Linked DNA regions of Homo sapiens: all the other regions are linked to region 1. The links are contacts of gene promoters, found by promoter capture Hi-C in blood cells and fetal thymus (Javierre and others, 2016). All regions are on one chromosome and are shown on one strand. Each heading gives the region's core, a stretch centred on a gene start or on the middle of the fragment in contact. The rest is flanking DNA. Distances are from core to core; before and after follow the strand shown.

Evidence for each region. Contacts are between HindIII fragments. The CHiCAGO score rates a contact against its expected background, and 5 or more counts as called.
Region 2: a contact is called between a fragment that was not itself captured here and the fragment with the promoter of TXNIP in region 1, in 3 of 17 cell types (endothelial precursors, naive CD4 T cells and activated CD4 T cells). The highest score is 5.8, in endothelial precursors.
Region 3: a contact is called between a fragment that was not itself captured here and the fragment with the promoter of TXNIP in region 1, in 3 of 17 cell types (naive CD4 T cells, endothelial precursors and erythroblasts). The highest score is 5.3, in naive CD4 T cells.

Annotation. Positions count from the first base shown.
Region 1 is chr1:145,995,241-146,000,381 of GRCh38, reverse strand. TXNIP (thioredoxin interacting protein) reads left to right here and starts at 3,803. Exons shown (of 8, transcript NM_006472.6): 1 at 3,803-4,365; 2 at 4,906-4,978; 3 at 5,091-5,141. The coding sequence starts at 4,116. The HindIII fragment of the contact is 13,533 bases long and covers 1-5,141 here.
Region 2 is chr1:145,779,306-145,784,446 of GRCh38, reverse strand. All of the region lies in intron 3 of RNF115 (ring finger protein 115), which reads left to right. Among named protein-coding and RNA genes, the nearest start is that of RNF115, 42 kb to the left of the region's middle. The HindIII fragment of the contact is 2,453 bases long and covers 1,003-3,455 here.
Region 3 is chr1:145,802,251-145,807,391 of GRCh38, reverse strand. The region is part of intron 1 of RNF115 (ring finger protein 115); the gene reads left to right. Among named protein-coding and RNA genes, the nearest start is that of RNF115, 19 kb to the left of the region's middle. RefSeq lists an enhancer at 1,900-2,408. The HindIII fragment of the contact is 2,887 bases long and covers 665-3,551 here.

The sequences.
Region 1 (5,141 bases), core at 2,554-5,053:
AAATTCCTTAGGGAAAAAATTGAAAGGGAAAAGGGTGCCTATAATCCCAGCACTTTGGGAGGCCGAGGTAGGCGGACTGCTTGAGCAGGAGTTTGAGACCAGCCTGGCCAACATGGTGAAACCCCATCTCTACCAAAAATACAAAAATTACCTAGGCGTGGTGGAGCACATCTGTAGTCCCAGCTACTCGGGAGGCTGAGGTGGGAGAATCACTTGAGCCTGGGATGCGGAGGTTTCAGTGAGCCAAGTGACACTGCATTCCAACCTGGTTGAGAGTGAGACCCTATGTGGAAAAAAAAAGAGAGAGAGAAAGGAAAATGGGTAAGGGTAAAAGGGAAGTTTACAGAGTAGAGGTGAGAGAAGTGATTAAAAGGACCAAGAAAGGGCTTTGTTCTGCATTAAGAACTATGAGTCTTCATGTTCTAAATGTTTGTCAGGCCAGAGGTTAAAGAAAAGAGAAATGCAATCAGTGTCTTGTCTCTGACTGGCAACAAAGTGCTGAGGGCACTTCCCTCCCTGAAACTGCTGGCTTTATTCTGTCACCTGCAGTAAAGCAAACAAACAACAATCACCACTTGGTTTCCTGTTGGCACTGGGACTGAAGAGGGTAGAGAAGGGGCAGATAAAGATGATCCAACTTGCAAAACTCTTTGACTGTGCCCTACTTTGCTGTTCCTCCTTGGCCCACCCCTTTTCCCAAACCTCACAAGTGTTTTTATACCCTGATTTTAGGACAAGAGTTTACAAAATTTCTTTCTTCTTAGACCCAAGAACTGGGAAAGGAGAATCGGGGCAGGTTTTTATCAGAATACCAGGTTACAAGGTGAAAGGTCGTAAACAACCGTGTCCAGGAGGACTCCACTTCAGAACATGCCTTGGCTACAGGCCTGGTAGGCAGCAGCTGCTGCCAAAGCTAAATAATTTTTTGGCATTTAAAGGAACCCAGGCATAACACAGAGCAACGTAGTCTGTAGTGAGCTCTGCAAATGGGAAGATACAAGGAAACCAGAGCCCAGAAGAGAAACTTAGAACGAGAGAATTGTCATAGGATTTTTTAAAACTCAGCAATTCAGTACTTCAGAGATGTGCCCACATAAATATCAAATAAATTGAAAGGGAAAAGGGTGCCTATAATCCCAGCACTTTGGGAGGCCAGGTAGGCGGACTGCTTGAGCAGGAGTTTGAGACCAGCCTGGCCAACATGGTGAAACCCCATCTCTACCAAAAATACAAAAATTACCTAGGCGTGGTGGAGCACATCTGTAGTCCCGGCTACTCGGGAGGCTGAGGTGGGAGAATCACTTGAGCCTGGGATGTGGAGGTTTCAGTGAGCCAAGTGACACTGCATTCCAACCTGGTTGAGAGTTGGATGTCTTAAGATGTCCCATATTACCACCACCCTGATCCATCACTAGCCACCATCTTTCCTATTCCCTCAAAATGTATGTAGTTAAGATTTAACAATATTTAACAATATTGACTATGTAGTTAACAATATTGATTCATATATTTGTCAGCATTTTGATGTTTGATAGTTACACTTTCATACCCATCAAACTAAACGTTCTCCCAGAAGCCACAATTTTGAACTTTTAAAATTACTTCAGTCAGGCCAGGCACGGTGGCTCACGCCTGTAATCCCAGCACTTTGGGAGGCCAAGGCGGGTGGATCACCTGAGGTCAGGAGGAGTTCAAGACCATCTTGGGCAACATGGTGAAACCCCATCTCTACTAAAAATACAAAAATTAGCTGGGCGTGGTGATGCATGCCTGTAATGCCAGGTACTCAGGAGGCTGAGGCGGAGAATCGCTCTAACCCAGGAGGCAGAGGTTGCAGTGAGCTGGGGTCAGGCCACTGCACTCCAGCCTAGGCAACAGAGCAAGATTCCACCTTAAAAAAAAAATTACTTCAGTCAGAGTTCCACCTCCTCTGCTCCCAGTAACTCAATCAATATTGTTAACCAACTGAAAACACCTCAAGCCTAGCTGGTTAAGTTTCTAGAACAGGGTGCCGCCTCAAACACACCCTAAGGATCAACATGTTCCTGGGGTTTAATGCATGTGTGTGTTTTCGAAGAGACTCATGATGCCTATTCTTGAGCTTGCTTAATATTGGGGTTGAGTTGTAACTCTCGTTAGCCTTAGAGTGTCAATCCAGCTAGGCTGTCTGAGGAAGGAAGAAGGCTCTTTAACAGCAATGAATATTGTTTTTTTTTTGCTGATTGGGTAGGGTTTCAATATACTTGAATGCTTCTTAATTACCTCCCCATCTCAATCTTGGGACATTATCTTCCTCTTTCCAGCACAAGGAATTAAATAATAATCTTCTGATACCCCAGCACAGATATAGGAAGGGTCTATGAATCAAATAAAAGGAGGAAGAATCCCTGCACTTTTGCATACAGGTTTTTCCTATTACATTTAAGAGTAAGTTCTCAGTACTCAGCTCCTAAAGCATCTCACAGCCAGCAGGGGAAAATCCATCTGACAGCTGGCCAAACGAAACCAACAAAGAATGAAGAGAGAGGGTAGGGTCTCTTCTGGCTTGAATTTATAGTGCTCTGTTGACCGATCTTTCTTCTCTTTTCCTTCTTACTGTTTTCTAAACCGTTTAGGGAAAAACCTTTGAAAATAGTTTTTAAAATTGTTCCTTCAAACAGGTGTGTGGCCATCTCTCCACTGAAAATTTGGATATAAACAAGAGGACTTTCTCACTTTTAACCAGATTTATGGATGTACATTTGATTTAGTGAGTTGGAAGAGGGGATGGAGACAAGAAAGAGTGAACATAACTGGAAAAAAGTGAAAAGAGTGAAGCATCCTTTTTTTCCCGCTTTTCCTTTTCCTCCAGAAGCAGGTAGGAAGTGGGAGATAATGAGCGCCTGGACACACCTCACTAAAGAGGTAATGAGGTAAATGGGGAACACAGACAAAGTGTTCCCCAACTTTGCAGGTAGAAATTGAAGAGATGACAGGATAAGCAACAGGATGTAAACACGCCCCTCCTATTTCCGTTCCACAGAACAGAGAGAACAGAAGAGAGGGTACAAGCTGGGGGTGGGTGACGAACAGCACAGGCACGCAGCCCCCAGCCCTAGCCCCAAGGGATTGGAACGGGAAGGAGAAGACATCGGTCCTACACACACAATGAGGCCTGAAAGTTCTCCTTTCCCTCAGAGACGGTGGTGTTTTTTATACTTAATAGGGATGCGGGGCAAGAGAAGGACAAAGGGCTGTTCCTGAACAGTAACACCAAGCATTCTGCGCTCCACAGCCCCAAACCTGAAAGTATTCTTGGAGCTATGGGATTTTCACACACTTGCTATTTATGAGCCAGGAATAACGACAGGCTCTAAAGTAACTGCACTGGCTAAGACTAGGCATGAAATTCCCTCATAAGCACATTTTCCTTTTACCTCAAAACACCGCTCTCAGACCAGAAACGTCCACACCCGCCCTCCGATGGCCTGTCGCCCTGGCTAGGTTTTAGGGTCAGTGGGATCCTCCTTCCACTGGACCCGGGAGAAGACGCTCAACAGCCCCCTCCTTCCCCTCCTTCCTCTCCTTCCTCTCCTTCCCCCCTCCCTGCGCCGCTCCAGAGCGCAACAACCATTTTCCCAGCCAGGAGCACACCGTGTCCACGCGCCACAGCGATCTCACTGATTGGTCGGGCTCCTGGTAAACAAGGACCGGGCAGCCAATGGGAGGGATGTGCACGAGGGCAGCACGAGCCTCCGGGCCAGCGCTCGCGTGGCTCTTCTGGCCCGGGCTACTATATAGAGACGTTTCCGCCTCCTGCTTGAAACTAACCCCTCTTTTTCTCCAAAGGAGTGCTTGTGGAGATCGGATCTTTTCTCCAGCAATTGGGGGAAAGAAGGCTTTTTCTCTGAATTAGCTTAGTGTAACCAGCGGCGTATATTTTTTAGGCGCCTTTTCGAAAACCTAGTAGTTAATATTCATTTGTTTAAATCTTATTTTATTTTTAAGCTCAAACTGCTTAAGAATACCTTAATTCCTTAAAGTGAAATAATTTTTTGCAAAGGGGTTTCCTCGATTTGGAGCTTTTTTTTTCTTCCACCGTCATTTCTAACTCTTAAAACCAACTCAGTTCCATCATGGTGATGTTCAAGAAGATCAAGTCTTTTGAGGTGGTCTTTAACGACCCTGAAAAGGTGTACGGCAGTGGCGAGAAGGTGGCTGGCCGGGTGATAGTGGAGGTGTGTGAAGTTACTCGTGTCAAAGCCGTTAGGATCCTGGCTTGCGGAGTGGCTAAAGTGCTTTGGATGCAGGGATCCCAGCAGTGCAAACAGACTTCGGAGTACCTGCGCTATGAAGACACGCTTCTTCTGGAAGACCAGCCAACAGGTAAGCGGCCCAATTCATTGTTGGAGGGTGAAAGCTGATTAGAGAAGAGAATTGAATACACAAAACCTGTACGAAATGTTTTAAGTTGCTCAGTTTGAGTGGTTTGAATTACGTGTTGTTGCTTCCTTTTTTCTGTTTTAATTTGCAGACATTCTCCTCCCCCCCCAAAAAAAAGGGTGATTTGTACAATTTTTTATGGTGCTGTGTCCTAAAGGGGATCCTGAGGGGCGTTGCCTCGGGTAGTTAAAGTCTTATGTGTGCATAAGTTGCTTATTCTTTGTCTACTTCCTATTTGAGATGTTAGTAGAGAACTGTCCTGGGTGAATCTTTCAGTATTGCAGGGCTTGGCAACTTGCTGCCCGACAAAATACATCAGAATTTCTCTTTAAGAACAATATGGGATGGATTAAAAAATATATATATGGGATGAAATTGGGGGTACTTCAATACCTTGCATGCCACCCAAGCATTCCTTATCACACAGATGCATTTTAAGTGTAACAGCAAGCCTAATGGCTACTCGATTTTCTTTCCCTTCAGGTGAGAATGAGATGGTGATCATGAGACCTGGAAACAAATATGAGTACAAGTTCGGCTTTGAGCTTCCTCAGGGGTAAATATCAGCTAAATGCATCTTTGAACTTTTCTGTCTAAAATATCTTGCCCTCCTTTGATCACTTACTGTTCTTGGAGAGCGTTTTAAAATTTTCATTTTCTTGACACAGGCCTCTGGGAACATCCTTCAAAGGAAAATATGGGTGTGTAGACTACTGGGT
Region 2 (5,141 bases), core at 980-3,479, 210 kb after region 1:
GAGTTTAACTGAATGTATAAGAAAAAATGTGGGCCGTAGTAACCCTTGGGAAGATTTGTGTTTTCAGTAGCTGGGGCTTGGGCGTGTTACCTTTGATAAACCCTTGATTAGGAGAAAGTAATAGCCTCAAACTGTATTCTTTTAAACTGGTAGTGTTTTTAATTCTTGTTTTCTACTTTGTTATTGTATATACAGTGTGAGAATAAGAAGCTTTTGCTGTTTTTGAAATAACAGTGTTGCAGACTCTGCTTTAGTGGTGTGACAACCAGGTAAAGTGCAGGCCAGGATAAGTTGTCGAAGTCACAATGAAATAGTCTTCAACCTTGTACAGAGGTACTGATTTCCAGGGCTTACCTCTAGTCAACACAGTAGTTTGGTGTAGATTAAGGATGTTTACTTGCCTTTCAGATCCCAAGATGGGGTCTGTAAATAATTTCTATATCTTCTTATAATGTGGCGTCCATATTTTTTGGGAAAAACAAATCTTAACTGTGATTTGAAAACAGGGCATTAGTCTTCATTCTTGAATACCATTTTATATTGAATCCAGAGTAATTTTCTTTTTTCACTTCGTCCATTGACCTAAAGTCTCTTTAGTTGTGTTTTTTTTTTTTAAAAAAAGAAACCATTGTAACTGTTCTTAAGTGTATAATTCAGTGGCATTAATACTCTTTGTTTTTAATCATTTAGAGACTACAACCCAGAAGGTACCAGTCAGCCTATAAAAAACACTGACGTTTTTCTTTTGCTTGTTTGTATGTGTACCCTATATTGCCATACAACTTGTTCAGCTCTAGAAAGCTGACAGATGCTAAAAGGAAGAAATAAGTTAAATCCCATAATCAGGATTTCTTTATGTTTTAGGATCACATTAGCCTTTTCCAGAGATAGCCGAAGTGCCTAGAGAGATAGCAAAATATTTCACTGTTTTGTATGTAAATTGAAATTGTACTAGTAGTATATTTGAAAAGTGATATTTAATAAGAAGCCTGTAAAACCCTAAGCTTCTCTCCCTTATTATTTGAAAATTATTTTAAGACCTGTAGCCCCCACATTTTGATGTTGTTAGATTTATCAACATTGTCTGGGTAATGGTCCTGTTCTATTTAGGGTGGTTTTTCTGCTTATGGTCTGTGCTACTTCTTAATATACAGTATTAAGAGTTTTGGTTAACTCTGAACTGCCCGGGTTGATTAGAGTGATTCCAGACAGATCGTGTTTTGAACTTGCATTTTTATTTTCCCATTTTAATGGATTGAAAAACATTATTTAATATGTGTTCTGGGCCAGGCACAGTGGCTCACGCCTGTAATCGCAACACTTTGGGAGGCCGAGGTGAGCAGATCACCTGAGGTCTGGAGTTCGAGACCAGCCTAGCCAACATGGTGAAACCCCATCTCTACTAAAAATACAATAAATTAGCTGGGCATGGTGGCATGAGCCTGTAATCCTAGCTACATGGTAGGCTGAGACACGAGAATCGCTTGAACCCGGGAGGCAGAGGTTGAGGTGAGTCGAGATCGCACTACTGCACTCCAGCCTGGGTGACAGAGCGAGACTCCATCTCAAAAAAGTAAAATACAATAAAATGTATTCTGTTTGCCAGTCCTGGAAGCCTTTATGATTTCAGTATTCTTTCCTCTTGTGTGTGCTATTTGTGATAACACAGATTGTCACTTACTGATTAGGCATATGCAGAAGAAGAAATTTCATTTGATTTTTCTTTAGTGTTCTCTTTTAGGTAATGGAAATAGATCGGTCTGCCAATTTTGTAGGTATGACTCACCAGAAAGAGATGCATTGAGTAAGAAGAAAAACAAATATATGTAGTCAGTTTCCTAACTTTAGTAATGCTAAATCCAACACTGATGGCATGAGTTATCCTTCAGGTGTTAAAGTATTTTTGCTGATTCATAGCTTGTAACTTCGTGTTCTTTAGATGTTGCCAGGGATTTTTAATAAATTAGCTAAGAAGTGTGTGTGTGTGTGTTTTTAAGAGATGGGGCCTTATTGCCCAGGCTGGACTCGAACTTCTGAGCTTAAGTGATCCTCCCACCTCAGGTTCCCTAGTAGCTGGGATTACAGGCAGGTGTCACTGTGCCTGGCTGAAAGTATATACTGAATGTTTCATACATAGCACTCTCCTAGAAATAGGGGCAGGAAGTAAATGTCATGGTTGCCTTGCCTGAAAGGAACTTAATTTTGTTGTGGAGCAAGTGCAAACACTTAAGAAAACAAGGAAGGCTGGGCGTGGTGGCTTACGCTTGTAATCCCAGCACTTTGGGAGGCCGAGGCAGGTGGATCACGGGAGGTTGGGAGTTCAAGACCAGCCTGGCCAACATGGTGAAACCCCATCTCTACTAAAAAATACAAAAAATTAGCCAGGCATGGTGGTGGGCGCCTGTAATTCCAGCTACTTGGGAGGCTGAGGCAGGAGAATTGCTTGAACCCAGAAGGCGGAGGTTGCAGTGAGCGGAGATTGCACCACTGGACTCCAGCCTGGGCAATAAGAGTGAAACTCTTATCTCCAAAAAAAAAAAAAAAAAGGAAAAGTGTACAGAGTATAATAAATTTATTCTGGGGTATATGTAACAAGTATAGTAGAAGGAAGAGTTAAGGTGGGCCAGGGTCTTGAGGAGAGGTCATATAACAGTGATTAAGAACACAGCCTCTGGAACCAGATTGCCTGAGCTCAAATCCTGTGTCTGCCACTTATTGGCTGTGTAATCTGGGCAAAGTTACTTAGAATCTCTCAGTGCCTCTCTTGTCCTTGTCTGTAAATTGGGAAATAATCATCCTTCCCTCATAGGGATGTTACGAGGATTAAATGAGTTAATACATGCTAGGTGTGTAGACCGCAATGTGCCTACCATCTAGTGAGTGCTTGATACATTTTAGCCATTATTAAGACTTCATAGTGAAGTTAGAACTTGCACTGGAGCCTTGAAGAGTAGGTGGAATTTAGATAAGCAAAGATGTGAAAATTATCTCAAAATAGTATTCATAAGCTATAAGGTTTTATGCTCATGTCCCTGAAGAAAAAACTTAGAAATAAAATTATATATAGAAACTAAAGTTGTTTTTCTTTTCCCTGCTTTAGTTGGTAATTTCGGCAAAGACTTATGCTCAGTTTTGCTCTATTTTTCTTTAGCTGGAGCTGCTTGTACAATGAAGTGGTTATTTTCTATAAGTAACATTTACTGATAGCTGAATTCTTAAAATACTGTCTATATTAGAAGAGGCTTATTCCAAGAAAATTTCTGTCAAAATCAGTATTGACTTTTTTTTAAAAAAATGAGACTGGGGTAGGAGATAAGAGACTAATGGGATAGAGAGAAGGTAGGGGAGGGTTGCCAGTTACATGGGAGCAGTGTTTGAATAATGTGTGAGGGCCGGTGGAGAGTGAATCTGAAAATATTGCTAGCAGTTTGTAGAGAGAAGACATTGCTATACTAAGCTTCCTGGTGGTAATCTAGAAAGTGAGCCCCATAGCTACCTGAAGGTTTCATTGATTACTTGCAAACTTCTGACCACGACCTGGTGCCAGTGGGTCATCTGATCTTAGAGTCTCAGCTTACCTGAATGGATTGCTTCAGTGCAAGAGTGGCTCTGGCTGCTGCCTCAGATTGGGAGAAAATAAGATACATGGCTTTCTGGAAAAAAGAGCTCTCAGGTATGCACAAGAGGGCAGGGTGCTCTGAGCTGATTTATATGTATTTAAATAAAATTTGTTATTTGTTTTTGTTACATAAGCAGCATTATAGTGGCAGTAAAAAATTTAAAAATATGTATCTTGAGTTTCACTTTTTTTTTTTTTTTTTTTTTTTTAGACGGAGTCTCACTCTGTTGCCCAGGCTGGGGTGCAGTGGCGCAATCTCGGCTCACTGCAACCTCCGCCTTCTGGGTTCAAGCGATTATCCTGCCTCAGCCTCCTGAGTAGCTGGGACCACAGGCGCGTGCCACCACGCCTGGCTAATTTTTTATATTTTTAGTAGAGACGGGGTTTCACCGTGTTAGCCAGGATGGTCTCGATCTCCTGACCTCGTGATCTGCCCGCCTTGGTCTCCCAAAGTGCTGGGATTACAGGTGTGAGCCACTGCGCCCGGCCGAGTTTCACTATTCTAAGAGCTCCCTTTTCCATACATTTCCTTTCAGATTTTGTCCTAAGGCATAGTTACTGAAAAATAACAACCTTAAGCTCTTTTTTGTTTGTTTTTTTGAGACGGGGTCTCGCTCTGTTGCCCAGGCTGGAGTGCAATGGCACGATCTCGGCTTACTGCAACCTCTGCCTCCTGGGTTCTAGTGATTCTCTCACCTCAGCCTCCCGAGTAGCTTGGATTACAGGCCCCCGCCGCCAAACCTGGCTAATTTTTGTATTTTTGGTAGAGATGGGGTTTTACCACGTTGGCCAGGCTGGTCTGGAACTCCTGACCTCAGGTCATCCTCTCGTCTTGGCCTCCCAGAGTGCTGGGATTACGGGCTTGAGTCACCGTGCCTGGGCCTAAGCTTTTTTAAAAATGAGAAATATTGGCCGGGCATGCAGATCACTTGAGGTCAGGAGTTCCAGACCAGCCTGTCCAATGTGATGAAACCCTGTCTTTACTAAAAATACAAAAATTAGCCAGGTGTGGTGGCGGGCACCTGTAATCCCAGCTATTCGGGAGGCTGAGGCAGGAGAATCGCTTGAACCCAGGAGGCGGAGGTTGCAGTGGGCTGAGATTGTGCCACTGCACTCTAGCCTGAGCAACAGAGCGAGACTCCGTTTCAAAAAATAAAGAAATATCCCATATTGTCATTACTTGATTATAGCTTTATGCATTTTTTAGCAAAATACTTCTCATTTCTCATGTGCATACCTCATAACTGTTTAGAGTTGCTGTCATAAGAGTATATTGTATTTCTGCCTCTAAAAATTTACTTGGTATTATGTCATAAACCTTTTACTTGTCTCTCTATAGTTATTAGAATTATAGCTGGACGTGGTGGCTCATGCCTGTAATCCTAGCACTTTGGGAGGGCGGAGGCAGGCGGATTGTTTGAGCCCAGGAGTTCAAGACCAGCCTGGGCAACATGGTAAAACCCTGTGTCTACAAAAATAAAAATAAAAAGCCAGGTGTAGTGGCATATGTGTGTAGTCCCAG
Region 3 (5,141 bases), core at 859-3,358, 190 kb after region 1:
TATTTTAATATGCAATCAGTATTAGATGGACAGATTCAGAGTTCCTAAGGTTTTTAATAAGATTAGCAGTATAATATAGGTCTATCTCGTCCTGTAACACTAGTACTGTAAAAGGTTTCCAGAAGTATATCTATTTCTATTCCTGAGTGTGATTGATTCTGGATATTTTCTTTGAGGACACACACATATACTCTATTTGTGAAGTACAGCACTTCGAATTTAGTTTGTATTTGATAATAACATTAAAATAACAGGCACTAGATTATGCAACAGTAACAGCAGTCCATTTTTATTTATTCAGTAACTGTATTGGTACCTTCTATATTCCAGGAGCTGTTCTAGGTACTTGGGCTGTTGTCTTAGTCCATTTTGTGTTGCTTATAAAGGAATAACTGAAGCTGGGTAACTTAAAAGAGGTTTACGGCTGGGCGCAGTGGCGCGTACCTGTAATCCCAGCTGCTCAGGAGGCTGAGGCAGGAGAATTCTTGAACCCAGGAGGTGGAGGTTGCAGTGAGCCGAGATCCTGCCACTGCACTCCAGCCTGGGCGACAGAAAAAGACTCTGTCTCAACAAAAAATAAACAAAAGAAGTTTACTTAGCTCATTACTCTGCAGACAGTACAAGAAGCTTCGCACCAGCATCTGCTTCTGGTGGGACCTCAGGAAGCTTCCAGTCATAGTGGAAGGCCAAGGGGAAGCAGGTGTTCCGCAAGGCAAGAGAGAAAGGGGAGGGGTACCACACTCTTTTAAACAACCACATCACTCATTCCTGTAAGGACTGCACCAAGACATTCATGAGGGATCTGCGTCCATGACCTAAATACCTCCCACTAGGCCCTACCTCCAACATTGGGGATCAAATTTCAACATGAGATTTAGAGGGGACACATATCCAAACTATATCAGCTATATTCAGGAAGAAGTACGGAGATTAATAAAATGTTGAGAAAAATGGGTAGTAAAATCAGGATTTAAATATTTTCTTCTCCTTTTGGCTTTCTTTAAATTTAATATTTATTTATTTATTTATCTATTTTATTTTTTTGAGATGGAGTCTTCCTCTGTTGCCCAGGCTGGAGTGCAGTGGCACGATCTCAGCTCACTGAAACCTCTGCCTCCCGGGTTCAAGCGATTCTCCTGCTTCAGCTTCCTGAGCAGCTGGGATTACAGGTGTGGGCCACAATGCCCAGCTAATTTTTGTATTTTTAGTAGAGACGGGGTTTCACCCTGTTGGCCAGGCTGGTCTTGAACACCTGACCTCAAGTGATCCACCCGCCTCAGCTTCCCAAAGTGCTGGGATTATAGTCGTGAGCCACTGTGCCTGGACTTAAATTTAATATCTCATTTAAACATTAAATTAATGTAGCTATCTCTGGATTAGAGCAAATGCCTTTTTGCCCATTTCAGGTCTGAGATATTGTTGTTGTAAGAACTAACAACTAGCCCTCATTTTGCAACTGTTGTCAGCCCTTTTTATAGCTGATTTTATTTATTTTAATTAATTATATATAAATTGTATTCTAGTACTGTGGGAAAAAATGTTTTATTTTAGCTGTTAAATTATTGAACCTTTCAGGGTCTTCATTTTCCTTGTCTGTAAAATGAGATAGTTGTGTTTATTCCTGCTAGCTACGGTTTAGTGATTTGAGCTCTGGGGTATTTTTGGATTTTGTGTAAGGGAATTTTCTTCTGTAGTTTTTCCACATAGATCATGTGGTAGCCACTGACATACTAGGATTTAAATTTTACCCCTGAAATAATCTCCTTTATGAGTTACAAACTATTAGTGCATATTTTATCTTATAATGATGAACAGTCTTGAAAATGTTAGGATGGAGGACATAATGCAAAGCAATGTCAAAATTTTCCTTTTATAAATCAAACAAAGCAATAATGCTGGTAATGTTGACTGAATAAATTAAAACTTCATTTTTTTTTTTTTTGAAGACTTGGGATTCAGTAACAGGTAAACTTGGCCTGGATAATTTTTTTTTTAGAACTATTTTATAAATATTCTTTGTTTGCTTTGAGGTTGCATTTACATTGCTTTTGTTTTTAAAGTTGTATTCAGTTAATTAATTGTTTTCTTAATCCAATGGTCAGTGGCTACTGTTAACAACCAGTTTGTATGTGATCTTTCCTGACTTGAATGTTCCTGCTGTGAGTTGAATTAGATCATACTTGTGAAATTCTCCTATGTCATTGATGGCAAGTCAATGCTAGAATTCCAAGTATTACTTTTATTTCGATGAAGAGTTCTCAGTCAGAAGCTCTGATTGCTCTGTGGGTACATGGTAAAATAGTACTTTTTAAAATGAAATGGTGATGGTAGATGGTTTTTTTTTTAATATTTATACTTGGCAAAATAAAAAAGCTGGCAATCCTTGCAGGTTTCCAATTTTTTAATTTGAAAATTGAACTGCTTTATGGGAACCAAAAGTATGGAAATCAGTAGTCTAGATCAGTGTTTCTCAAACTGTGTGCCAGGAGATTTAATAGGAGTTCAGAATTATGGTAAAATATTGCATACCAAATTGTTGCCCTATCTCCATCCCTCCACTTCCCCTTTTATGACATGGAATGGCATATTAATGGTTCTGAAAAATCATTCATTAAAGCAGCATGTTTGATATTTAGTTCAGGCTTTTCTAAATCTAGTTTTTCTCCCCACCTTAACCACTGGTTAATATCCTGTGAAACGTGGTTTGAGAAATATTCCATATCCAAATCACTCAGAATAATTTATTAGAACCTACAGTTTGTTGAGAATTTAGTATATTCCCGGTACTATCTCATTTAGATGAAGTGAGCTACCCAGTGTCACACAACTGGTTGGTTATTCTGTGTTTCCAGTCTGATTGTGTGTGTGTGTGTGTGTGTGTGTGTGTGTGTGCATGCATGCATGCATTTAAGGTGGACAACATGATGTTTTGAAGTGCACATACATAGTTGAAATGATTACCAGTCCAGCTTTGTTTTGCTTCACATTCATTACTCTAACCACTTAGGCTGTTCTGAAGCATTGCTTAGTTCTCATTTCGAGGCTAAGTACCTAAGACTAGGATATTCAGAAGTTCATTTTATATGCCTTTTGACTTCCCTAACTACTAGAATATGGTTAAGGGAAGTATGATTTTATCAGAGCATATACTTTGTAGGTGATTTTAGTGACTTTTAATCCCAGGTTATTTTTCTTTCTACACAATGCTTGGAATGTAGAGCTTAGAATTTTTGCTGAGTGAATGAATGTTGTCACTTTGTCAAAGAAGATTCTGTCAGCCTAAGCTAAAAGCAAGAAAGTACATTTTACTTCTAAACTATTGTGGTACACATCAGAGCTAAACATCTATACTTTTTGGCTCATTTATCATTTTATATTTATGCCACTGGGTTGTTCCCTTTCTTGCTGCCTTTAGTGTGAGCAAGCCAAAAACACTATAAATCTTTTCTGCTATATTATGTTGTCTGAGGTTAATTAACATTTTCTCTGGTAATTCTTGTAGTCCTGTGTGTTTCTTCCTTAGAAAATTTGGCTTCTTGACCATCTGATCAAGCTTGTATCAAGTAACACTTTGTCTTGTGACCTGATTTTCTGCCTTGGTACACAATGAGCTAAAGAAGCTTGGTTGATTATGCACTCCTGTTTGGAATCTGTAATGTCAGTGTTCAATCATGGCCTGAATTAAGGAACAAAATGATAAAGGTGGCTGGGTGCGGTGGCTCACGCCTCTAATCCCAGCACTTTGGGAGGCTGAGGCAGGTGGATCACTTGAGGTCAGGAGTTCAACACCAGCCTGGCCAATGTGGTGAAACCCATCTCTACTAAAAATACAAAAATTAGCTGGGCATAATGGCGGGCACCTGTATTCCCACCTACTGGGAAGCTGAGGTGGGAGAATTGCTTCAGCCTGGGAGGCAGAGTTTGCAGTGAGCCAAGATCACGCCACTGCATTCCAGCCTGGGCAACAGAGTGAGACTCAGTCTCAAAATAAATAAATAAATAAAGGTTGTGAATGTGAATGTTACTATTCTTAGGGGGATGAAACCATAAATCAAGGTAGTTTTATTGGCCTGGAACTGAATCACAGCCCTTCAAACAGTATTTAAATTGTATAGGTATCCTTGTGTAACACTGAAACTGTGGCCTATTGTTTTCCTTTTTAGTAAACTGATTTTCTTTATTAATAGCCAAGTGAACAATTGCTTACAACTCCTTGAGCTCAGAGAACTAATTTCAAAATGTTTAGACTGGAAACTTTCTCTTTCTTGTAATGAATGAGAGGTATGTCTTCCTTAATTTCTTGAAGGAGAGTTGAGAGAAAGAAGTCAGTGAGGACAGTATTTGTACTCTAGAAAGAGATTTTCACAGAGACCTTGAGGATAATGGTGGAACTGGGAACAGAACTCAGAAGTTCTGTTGTCTTTGTTTTGGGGTTCACTTGATGCTTTTGAAAAGGGAGGAGGATGTATAACCTGGCTTGAAAAGGGAACCAGTCTCTTTGACCTAGTGACGAGACTTAGCATCAGAGTAAAAGTATAGTGGGTACTGGCCTAGGAGCTGTGATGTGTGGCAAACATTTTGTGTTCTTAATCCTTCTAATTAGAAATTTCTGACTGTCTTGCCATGTGATACTCAAAGAGAGTATAAACAATAGAATGTGACTAACTTAAAATTGTGGCTGTCAGACTAGACAGAAAATGGGCTTCTTTTTTTTGACACTTTAATCACCATTGGAACTTCTGTTTTAGATAAAATAAACACTTTAAGTTGATAACGAAGAGGTAGAAAAACATAGCTGTGAAATTAGGAAAAAAGTAGTAAGTCTTTATATTACATTTGATGTACTGAATAAGTATTGGATACAAACTTGTATAGGTTTCAAGAGTATTTAAATTTCACATTATGTGACCTGATATAAATAGGTCTGAATTTGTAGCTCCTTGTCCTCTAAGGTGTCACGTATTGTGATAACTAATCCTTTGAAATACGGGAGGCAAAAGAAATAATGCATTAAAACCACCCTTTTCCTTTCCTTCCTATATTTCTAGTGCTTTGTGTCCTCTTGGGCTGTTCTTTTAAGTGGGTAAGCATCAGGGCTAAGCTATGCTTAGGGAGTTGTTCTCGATTCAGAACCTGCCACT